Linked DNA regions of Homo sapiens: region 1 is linked to region 2. Evidence: promoter capture Hi-C in 16 types of primary human blood cells and fetal thymus (Javierre and others, 2016). All regions are on one chromosome and are shown on one strand. The core of a region is centred on a gene start or on the middle of the fragment in contact, and the rest is flanking DNA. Distances in the headings are between cores, read along the strand shown. Region 1 has its middle 17 kb from the start of ARID1A. Region 2 holds the start of PIGV (phosphatidylinositol glycan anchor biosynthesis class V).

The links. Contacts are between HindIII fragments. The CHiCAGO score rates a contact against its expected background, and 5 or more counts as called.
Region 1: a contact is called between a fragment that was not itself captured here and the fragment with the promoter of PIGV in region 2, in 14 of 17 cell types (endothelial precursors, naive CD4 T cells, total CD8 T cells and 11 more). The highest score is 22.1, in endothelial precursors.

Annotation. Positions count from the first base shown.
Region 1 is chr1:26,676,490-26,681,044 of GRCh38, reverse strand. No RefSeq gene overlaps it. Among named protein-coding and RNA genes, the nearest start is that of ARID1A, 17 kb to the left of the region's middle. RefSeq lists an enhancer at 3,055-3,104. The HindIII fragment of the contact is 3,669 bases long and covers 1-3,281 here.
Region 2 is chr1:26,785,467-26,789,819 of GRCh38, reverse strand. It overlaps PIGV (phosphatidylinositol glycan anchor biosynthesis class V), which reads right to left and starts at 1,870. Exons shown (of 4, transcript NM_017837.4): 1 at 1,552-1,870. RefSeq lists enhancers at 294-423, 1,231-1,430, 1,118-1,944, 1,991-2,430, 2,951-3,100 and a silencer at 1,731-1,940. The HindIII fragment of the contact is 3,281 bases long and covers 578-3,858 here.

The DNA.
Region 1 (4,555 bases), core at 198-2,697, 110 kb after region 2:
TGTAGCCTCAACATCCTGGGTTCAAGTGCTCCTACCACCCCAGCCTCTGGAGCAGCTGGAACTACAGGCACACATCACCATGCCTGACTAATTTTTGTATGTTTTGTAGAGACAGGGTTTTGCCATGTTGCCCAAGCTGGTCTTGAACTCCTGACCTCAAGTGATCTGCTTGCCTCACCCTCTCAATGTGTTGGGATTACAGGCATGAGCCACTGCACCCACACATAGGTGTGTGTTGTCTTTTATTTGGATTGGTTCCAAATAATACATCGCTTCCAAATGATACAGGCTGGATGTGATGGCTCATGCCTGCAATCCCAGCACTTTGGGAGGCCGAGGTGGGCAGATCACCTTAGATCAGGAGTTCAAGACCAGCCTGGCTAACATGAAGAAACCCTATCTCTACTAAAAATACAAAAATTAGCCGGGCGTGGTCATGGGCCCCTGTAATCCCACCTACTTGGGAGGCTCAGGCAGGAGAATCATTTGAACCTGGAAGGCAGAGGTTGCAGTGAGCCCAGATCCTGCCACTGCACTCCAGCCTGGGTAACAGAGCAAGATGCCATCTCAACAAAAGAAAAAAATTATATTCCATATAGATATTACTAGAGGTCTAAACGACAGTGATGTCTTCAAATGAAAGAAGAAAAAATATCTTAGGGAAGCATCTCTTACAGAACCAAAATTTGAAGATTTGGGAGATTTAGAAGATTTAAAAGAAAATATGGAGTAATATAAACATGAAAACGAAAGTGTGGTAGATCCTTCATCTCACACAAATTTTGCCACATTGATAGATGCTATCTTGGGCCAGGCATGGTGGCTCGTGCCTATAATCCCAGCAATTTGGGAGGCCAAGGCAGGGGGATTGCTTGAGGCCAAGAGTTTGAGACCAGCCTGGGCAACATAGCCAGACTTAATCTCCACAGTAAAAAAATTTGCCCAGCATGGTGGTTCATGCCTGCAGAACCAGCTACTGGGGAGACTGAGGCAGAACTGCTTGAGCCCAGGAGTTCGAGGTTACAGTGAGCTATGATTGCACCATTGCACTCCAGCCTGAGTGACAGAGCAAGACCCTGTCTCAAATAATAATAATAATAATAATAATAGAAGCTATCTCACAAGTGACTATTATGTGTGTGCTATATAGTCTCTAATACTCACAAAAATCCAATAAGAGGCATTATTATGTCCTATATAAGCAAAGAAACTGAGGCTCATATAGATTATGTAATTTAAGGTTACAATACTGGTAAATGATGGAGTCAGGATTCAAACTCAGCTCTCTTATAAATTCTGAATTCTGAGGTTTTCAATAAAAATGTGCAATAAATCCAATAATGTTAGAAATGTACTTTTTCAAGGTACTAATATTAACTGTTAGTAGAAGCATCTGTGTGTGTGTGTGTGTGTGTGTGTGTGTGTGTGTGTGTGTGTGTACTGATCCCAATCAAAGAATATAATTTCTTTGGGTCTCTTAGAGCTTCTCATTTCTGAGTGTGATCCTAGGATTAGCAGTTTAAACCTCACCTTGGAGCATCTTAGAAATGCACAATCTCAGGCCCCACTTCAGACCTTCTGAAACAGAATCTGCATTTTGACAATATTCCAGGTTATTTTTCTGCAAATTAAAGTTTGAAGCCTGGCCAGGTGTGATGGCTCATGCTTGTAATTCCAGTGCTTTTGGAGGTCAAGGCAGAAGGATTGCTTGAGGCCAGGAGTTTAAGACTACTCTGGCCAACAGTTATATAGAGACCTGGTCTCTAAAATAAAATAGTTTGAGAGGCACGGTCTTTTTTTTTTTTTTTTTTGAGACAGAGTCTCACTCTGTCACCAGGCTGGAGTGCAATTGTGTGATCTCTGTTCGCTGCAACCTCTGCCTCCCGGGTTCACGCCATTCTCCTGCCTCAGCCTTCCAAGTAGCTGGGATCACAGGTGCCCGCCACCACGCCCAACTAATTTTTTGTATTTTTAGTAGAGACGGGGTTTCACCGTATTAGCCAGGATGGTCTCAATCTCCTGACCTCGTGATCTGCCCACCTCGGCCTCCCAAAGGGCTGGGATTACAGGCGTGGGCCATGGCGCCCGGCTGAGAGGCACTGTCTCAAGGATGGGTGGTTCCCTTCCAGTTACTAAGGAGGCTAAGGTGGGAGATCCCTTGATTCCAGGAGGTAAAAGCTATAGTAAGCCTAGAATAAAAAAGCGAGACCCTGTCTCAAAAAAAAAAAAAAAGATGGGTGGTTCCACGAAGAGGGATGCCTCTTACTCCCATTGTGGCCATCCACATTCATAGGACCAGGGAGGGGAAAGATGGTAAGAATGCACTCACATTATAACCTTTACTGTCTGATTTTTAAATAAATGTTCATCAGTCATTTTTTATGACAGCTTTGAAATATAATTACAATTCACCCATCAAATTGTACAATTCAATGGTTTCAGCATATTCAGAGTTATGCAACCATCACCACAATCAATTTTAGAACATCTCATCATCCTGAAAAGAAACTCCATACCCTTTAGCCTCCTCTCCCCATTCTCCCCAGCTTCAAGCCCTAGGCAACCATTAATCTACTTTCTGTACGCCAGGGGTGATGGCTTACACCTGTAATCCCAGCACTTTGGGAGGCCGAGGTGGGCAGATCACCTGAAGTCAGAAGTTTGAGACTAGCCCGGCCAACATGGTGAAACCCCATCTCTACTGAAAATACAAAAATTAGCCAGGTCTAGTGGCAGGCACCTGTAATCTCGATTACTTGGGAGGTTGAGGCAGGAGAATTGCACGAACCCAAGAGGTAGAGGTTGCAATGGGCAGAGATCGCAAGACTGCACTCCAGCGTGGGTAACAGAGTAAGATTCCATCTCAAAAAAAAAAAAAAAAAAAAGAAAAGAAAAGAAAGAAAAATATCTACTTTCCATTTCTACAGATTTGTGTATTCATGGACATTTTTTAAAAATGGAGTCATATAATATGCAGTCTTTTGTGACTGGTTTCTTTCATTTAGCATACTGTTTTCAAGTTTCATCCATGTTGTTCACCTGTCTCAATCCTTTCTCATAAGTGGTAGCATTCTTCCAACAGATGTGTGGGTGCCAGACAGCAATGTGACCCTCTCACCCACTCCTCCCAGTGGAGTTCCTGACTACCGTCGTTCCCCTACGAGAAGCCTTTCTCCTCCCGTTACTGACTACTCTAGTAAGGAGGACTTTAGCAGAGTTCTTTTTTTCCATTTTCTCCCTGGGACTTAGCAGCTCAAGTGCAGCTGGCCCTTGGCCAAGCTTCCTCTCCAAGACACCTGCAGGTGCTACCAGTGCTGCCACCTTATGCCCATTTCTTGAAGTAGTGGACACTGGATCAGGCACTGTCTTCCTCCCTGAGAGCCCTGCTCTTTGCTGTGTTCACAATCAAGGTTGTGACTCATGACAGAGTGTGACCAGGAGAGGTCGAGGGTGTGCTGTGTGGGAACTCATGCCTGGTACCTTGAAACAACCAAGAGGCAGAGAAAGAAGCAAGCGCAAATGCACATGGAGCTCAAGAGGAGCGTGATTTTAAATCTCTCTTCCTGATTATCTTGGCTGTTTCTTCAGCTTCCACTTTTCTTCCTCTCTTCAGTTCACTTTCATTTCCCTATGTTACTCCTCAAAGAATAGGGAACCTACACGTCTCTCACTGTTCATTTCCACCTGGATTGTTTTCTCTTGTCACGTCAAGGGGTACAACTGTATACTTAGACATTTGGGTATGCTTAAGTTACTTCTATAAAAAAGAATCAGTCTAAACATTCTGCCCTGCTGAATGGCAAAACAAGGAAAAGGTTTTCTGTTTTCCAAAAAAATAAAGATGTTCTTCCTGAATAAATAAAGCTACCCAAACACAAATTTTTAAGAAACACACTTAAATTATCAGTCCCAAAGAAAAACTAGCATAGTAATTAAAATACTTTCCCTAAATGTTCATGCCTGAATCTGGGACCTTGTCAAAGTTCATTCTGGGGTGCATAGTTCCATTACAGATTATCATGCACGACCCTGAACTCCCTGAGTAGACCGTATATCTCCACTTCAAGCTCTTATTCCTGGGAAAATCTTTCCAAATTAAGGCTGCAGGCACTTATCTACCTCAGACTCTCATTGCCACTCTATGATATTTATTCAAGAAATGTTTGTATACTACCACATGCTAGCCTTGTGCTATACACAAGACAGACAAGGTTCCAGCTCCCATGGGGTTTAGCTTCTAGGTAGGGAAATGTAACAGTAGACTGCAGCCCTAAGACCTGTGGTGTGCTTGGCTGAGTCCCTCAGTGTGTCTTGATGAGTCCTGTTACCCCTAAGTAAAACAGGCAAGAAACACCTTGCTGTCTTAGACAGCAAAGAAGAAAAGCAGATGGACTGGGTGTAGTGGCTCACACCTGTAATCCCAGCACTTTGGGAGGCTGAGGCAGGCTGATCATTTGAGATCAGGAGTTTGAGACCAGCCTGGTTGAAATGGTGAAACCCCGTCTCAATTAAAAATACAAATGTTAACTGGAGGTGGTGGCGGGCGCCTGTAATC
Region 2 (4,353 bases), core at 621-3,120:
CCTAAAAGGAAAAAAAAAATTTGAACTGAGAAATTTAAGGAGGACGGCTGGAAGACTCTTTTTCTTCTCTTATCTGGCGAATACCTAAAAAACCTGTATCACTTGTTTCTGGAATTCTCTGATCCTCACTAGACAGTGTGCTATGCCCTCATTACATTCTGCCCTATTGCCGTTATTGCTATTGCTTATTTAAGTTGCTAAGGGCAGGGGCTTTACATCACAACTATATCCCAGGGCCTAGAACACAAATAGGCATCTTAAACCTGTGTTCTGAATGAATGGAAGTGGTAGGGACAGGATACAGCATCAGCAGTTCACTGACTCTAGATATGAAATCAGTGCCCCAAGTATTCTTCCCATCATATCTCATGTCAAGAGCAAGACGACAAAGTCACAGAAGCCACAGGAAAATAAAATTTCCCCAGAAAGGGAGCCAAGTTGGCCAATGGCAACAGTACTCTTTCCTTGGCACAAGGGGGCGCCTGCTGCTTACTCCATCGCCAGGAGGCCTGGAGGAAGGGAGGGGCCCCCAATTCCACACCGGTTGGCTCACGAAAATTCGGTTCAAAGGCAAGCTTCTGAAAGCCCCAGACAGTAACGATAGTTTGTGAATCTAAACGTTTCCAACGTATGACTCGCTGAATCGAGAGAAATCACGGAAATGGGCATACTCAACCTCACGCGGCTACTCCTTCCCTATCCTAGGGCGAATTCACTCTTTTTTCCTCTTCCTTGGCTTCCCACGCGCATGCAGAAGAGAAGCTGGGATCAGAAAAGCACCTAACCCACCTCTGCCACTTGACCATGCTTGCATTCTTCCTTTCCTCTCTCGAGTCAAGCTCTAGCCTCAGCGACTACAGATGTGTGTAGCCCACACTTTGCTTACAGGTAAACCAAGTAAAAACAAAGCTAGTCAATTCTCCCTCTCAGCTAATTGCCCACCTCACTTCCCAACAACCCCTTTGCCAAATCACAGACTCTTAACTGGCAGGACACTTACAGATCAACTAGTTTCACTCTTCAAAAATTTTCCCGTGAGATAAATAGGCTCCAGAGATCTCATCAGACACTGTGAGGCTAGTATAATTACCATCGCCATTTTATGGATATGGAAACTGAGGCTCACTGGGGTCAAGTGACGTACCCAGGGCTACTTAAAGAGGCTGTCATGTTTTCTGCTTCTTAAACCTCACGGTACCAGCCCGCATCCCTCGCCAAAGGGTACGCGCCCTTTCCGAGCCAGGATTATGACCCAGGTCACCCAAACGCCTAGCCCAGTACTTCCATGCCGCAGCCTGCCCTTGCTAGGTATGCTTAGGGTAGTTGGGCCCTATCTGAGAATCTGGGACATCCTGTTGAACGGCAGCTCTGGACCCTCTGGGTAAGACTAACACCCCCTGCGCAGGCTGGAGAAGTCGCTCTGACCCAGGGTCCTCAGAGCCAAAGGCCTCGTGGGGGCTGCCTTCTGTCAGCCCAGCCGTGTCCGCAACCCGTTTCTGGCCGGCTCCTTTTGGACACAGTCCCTTCTGGGTACTAATCATCCACGCTCACCCCAGAGGGGCCACGGCCCAAGGACCACTCCCGAGGGAGCCTGCAGAGCCCCACCAGGCCACAGGGCCGGAAGCAGACGAGGGCGGGAGGCTGGAAAGGAAGAGGCGGCGCCCGAGGCTGCTATGGCGGAGGGGCGGGGCTCCCCGCTTCTCCGGGCGTCTGTCTCATTTCTACCGGCTTCCATTTGACAGCTTCCCTCCCGCCAGAACTCCAGGGCTCCCAAGCTGGCGCGGGGTCCTCAGCCCCTGCCCGTCCCGACCTCCCCGGCGGGGACCGAACCTCAGCTCCTCCATCCGGGGCCCACGCGGCCCGCGCCTGCGCGCTGGCTCCGCCGACGGCGTCCCCGCCCCGCTCCTGCCCGGACTTGGAGCAGCCCCGCCTCCCTGCGCGGCGGCCATGTTGACTCCGGGCGAGCGGGATGGGGGTCGCCGCTCGGCGCCTCGCCTCGTAGCACCTTCCCACCTTGGTGACACCTGAAGAGTTCTCTCGCACTTCGCTCTCCTTCAAGGCCCCCCGCCACCCCGCCTTCAAATAGTGAGCGGAGGCTGCTGTCTCAGAGTCAGTGCTCTTGCCCCAGCTCCCGCTGACGTTCACTGAGTTCCCGGTGTGGGCCGAGGCTCTTGTAGTCGGAGGCTGACCCGCAGCCTCTTCACAGAAACCAGAGCCGCGCTCTTCCTGCTGTCAGGCAACAACAGCTCAGCACAGGGCCTGACACACAATAGATGTCCTCTGAATAGCCAAAGAAAAACATTCTTGGGGTTTCTGTGGCCGGCAGCGGCACCCTGCGTCCTGGGTGTGAAGAAAGTGGGGGATCCCCCTGATTTTCCCCTCCTCTATCTACCAGAGACCTTCTGTCCTACTTTAGTCCTCAGCCCCACCTCAGGTGGCTAATGAGGATGGTGAAGAAAACCTCAGAGAACACCCTCCAGGGCTCCTTTCACCTCCCTCACCCAAGCAGTTTCTCTCATAGGAAGTGGGGCCAAAAAAAGAAGAAAAAAAAAGAGGCGAACTCAACAAAACCGTCTATTGGGGGGAGCGGCCAGTTTGTACCCTTGTAACGGAAACTGTTAGAACAACTTTGCACCCTCCTTAAAGGAAACAGATGATAAATCCTTCTCCGTTGGTGGATTTCTTGTTTCTCAGGATTCCAAAGCCTTATGTGGTTTCAGTTATCTGCCCTCCAAACGAAGCCAGGGGCCGGGTTAGCCTCTGGCCACAGCCTGGCTCAGGGAGGGGTTTATCTTCTGCAACGGCTACTCATGTGGGTGGGAACAAAGAGATGGTTGCTACCTCTCCAGGCGAAGACCAGCCCACATCAGTCTGTGGGGGCCTGGGACTGTATCTCTTGACTCTGTAACTCATTTCAGGCCCTGAGACCTAAATTGCCTTCAGATATCTGTTGTGTGCAAGGTGGAGAAAAGGCAAATCATATTTAGTCGTTGTGTGTTGGAGAAGGGGGAAAAAATGGAGTTTCATGGCCCTTCCCCCAGGTTTTTCAGTGCCACGCACTTGTTCTCAGCTCCAGAGGCCTGTGAGTAACGTGGCAAAGCCTGGGGACACACTTGTGACTGGGGCCTAAGGCTGTGACTTGAATCTCTAGAAGTCCACCATGAGGCTCCAAGCAGCACTCTCTCTGCAAAGACAAAACTGAGAAATGAACTGTCCTTGCTCTGTAAATTCACAAGGGGAAAAAAGACATGCATTCTCAGGGTTCCCTCTGTCCACATCAAATTCTCTCAAAAATCTATTTGTAAAAAGGCCAGGGGTCTCTCAAGACAAGTCAGAATGTTTTTTAAAAGCTCAGCTGTCACCCTGTAGAGGTAGAACTTTATCCAGATTTTCAGCTGTACTTTCCTGCAATTTCTCTTTTCCTTCTCTGCTACCCAACCCCCTCCTCTTCCGCTCTGTTTCCTGTTTCATTTTCTGACTTCTGCTCTGACAGGAAAACAAGGAAGCTGAATCTTGTGCTCTCAAAGCCCTGACTCCCTGGTTTCAGATTGGAAGAAGGCTAGGTGGGATAGGAGGGGATTCTGGGACTCCAAGGCTTTGAGTAGTGACGGAGGCAGCCTCTCAGTGTTCTTGTAGAGTCTGCAGCTAAGATGGAGCCTGCATCTACCCAGGGAGCCAGCTGAGCTACCAGAACTGTGGAAAGCAAGTGAGAAAGAGCCATATCCCAGGCTCCAGAAAGACTCCACACTTCCCAGCCATTTCCATTAAGAAGCACATATCCCACATCACCAAGAAACAATATCACATACAAATCCCTAACCAGAACAATGCAAGCAATGCATTACTATTCTAGAAGCTTAGGATTTAAGAGGGTTACATCATTTCTGTTCTTTGAACTTGCCTGGCTCTGCTCTTGCTATTTTCCCTGCTTGAAGCACTCTACTTCCAGACCACCCTTTGGCTAGCCCATTATGTTTGGGTCTCCGGAGAGAAGTCACCTCCTTAGAGAGGCTTTCCCTGTACTATCCCATCAGTCTGTTCTGTTTTTTTTTTTTTTTTTTTTTTTTTTTAAAGATGAGGTCTCACTATATTGCCAAGGCTAGTCTGGAACTCCTAGGCTCAAAGGATCCACCCACCTTGGCCTCCCAAAATGCTGGGATTACAGGTGTGAGCCACTGCGCCCGGCCTCTGTTTTCTTCATAGCACTTAACACTATCTGCTTGTCCTGTCCATGAATTTTACTTGTTTCAATGTCTGTTTCCCTATTCTAGAATGTAAGCTTCTGAGTGTAATGGAGGAGCAAGGGCTTTGTTCACCAATGTATTTCCAGTTAGAACAGTGCCTTGCACACTG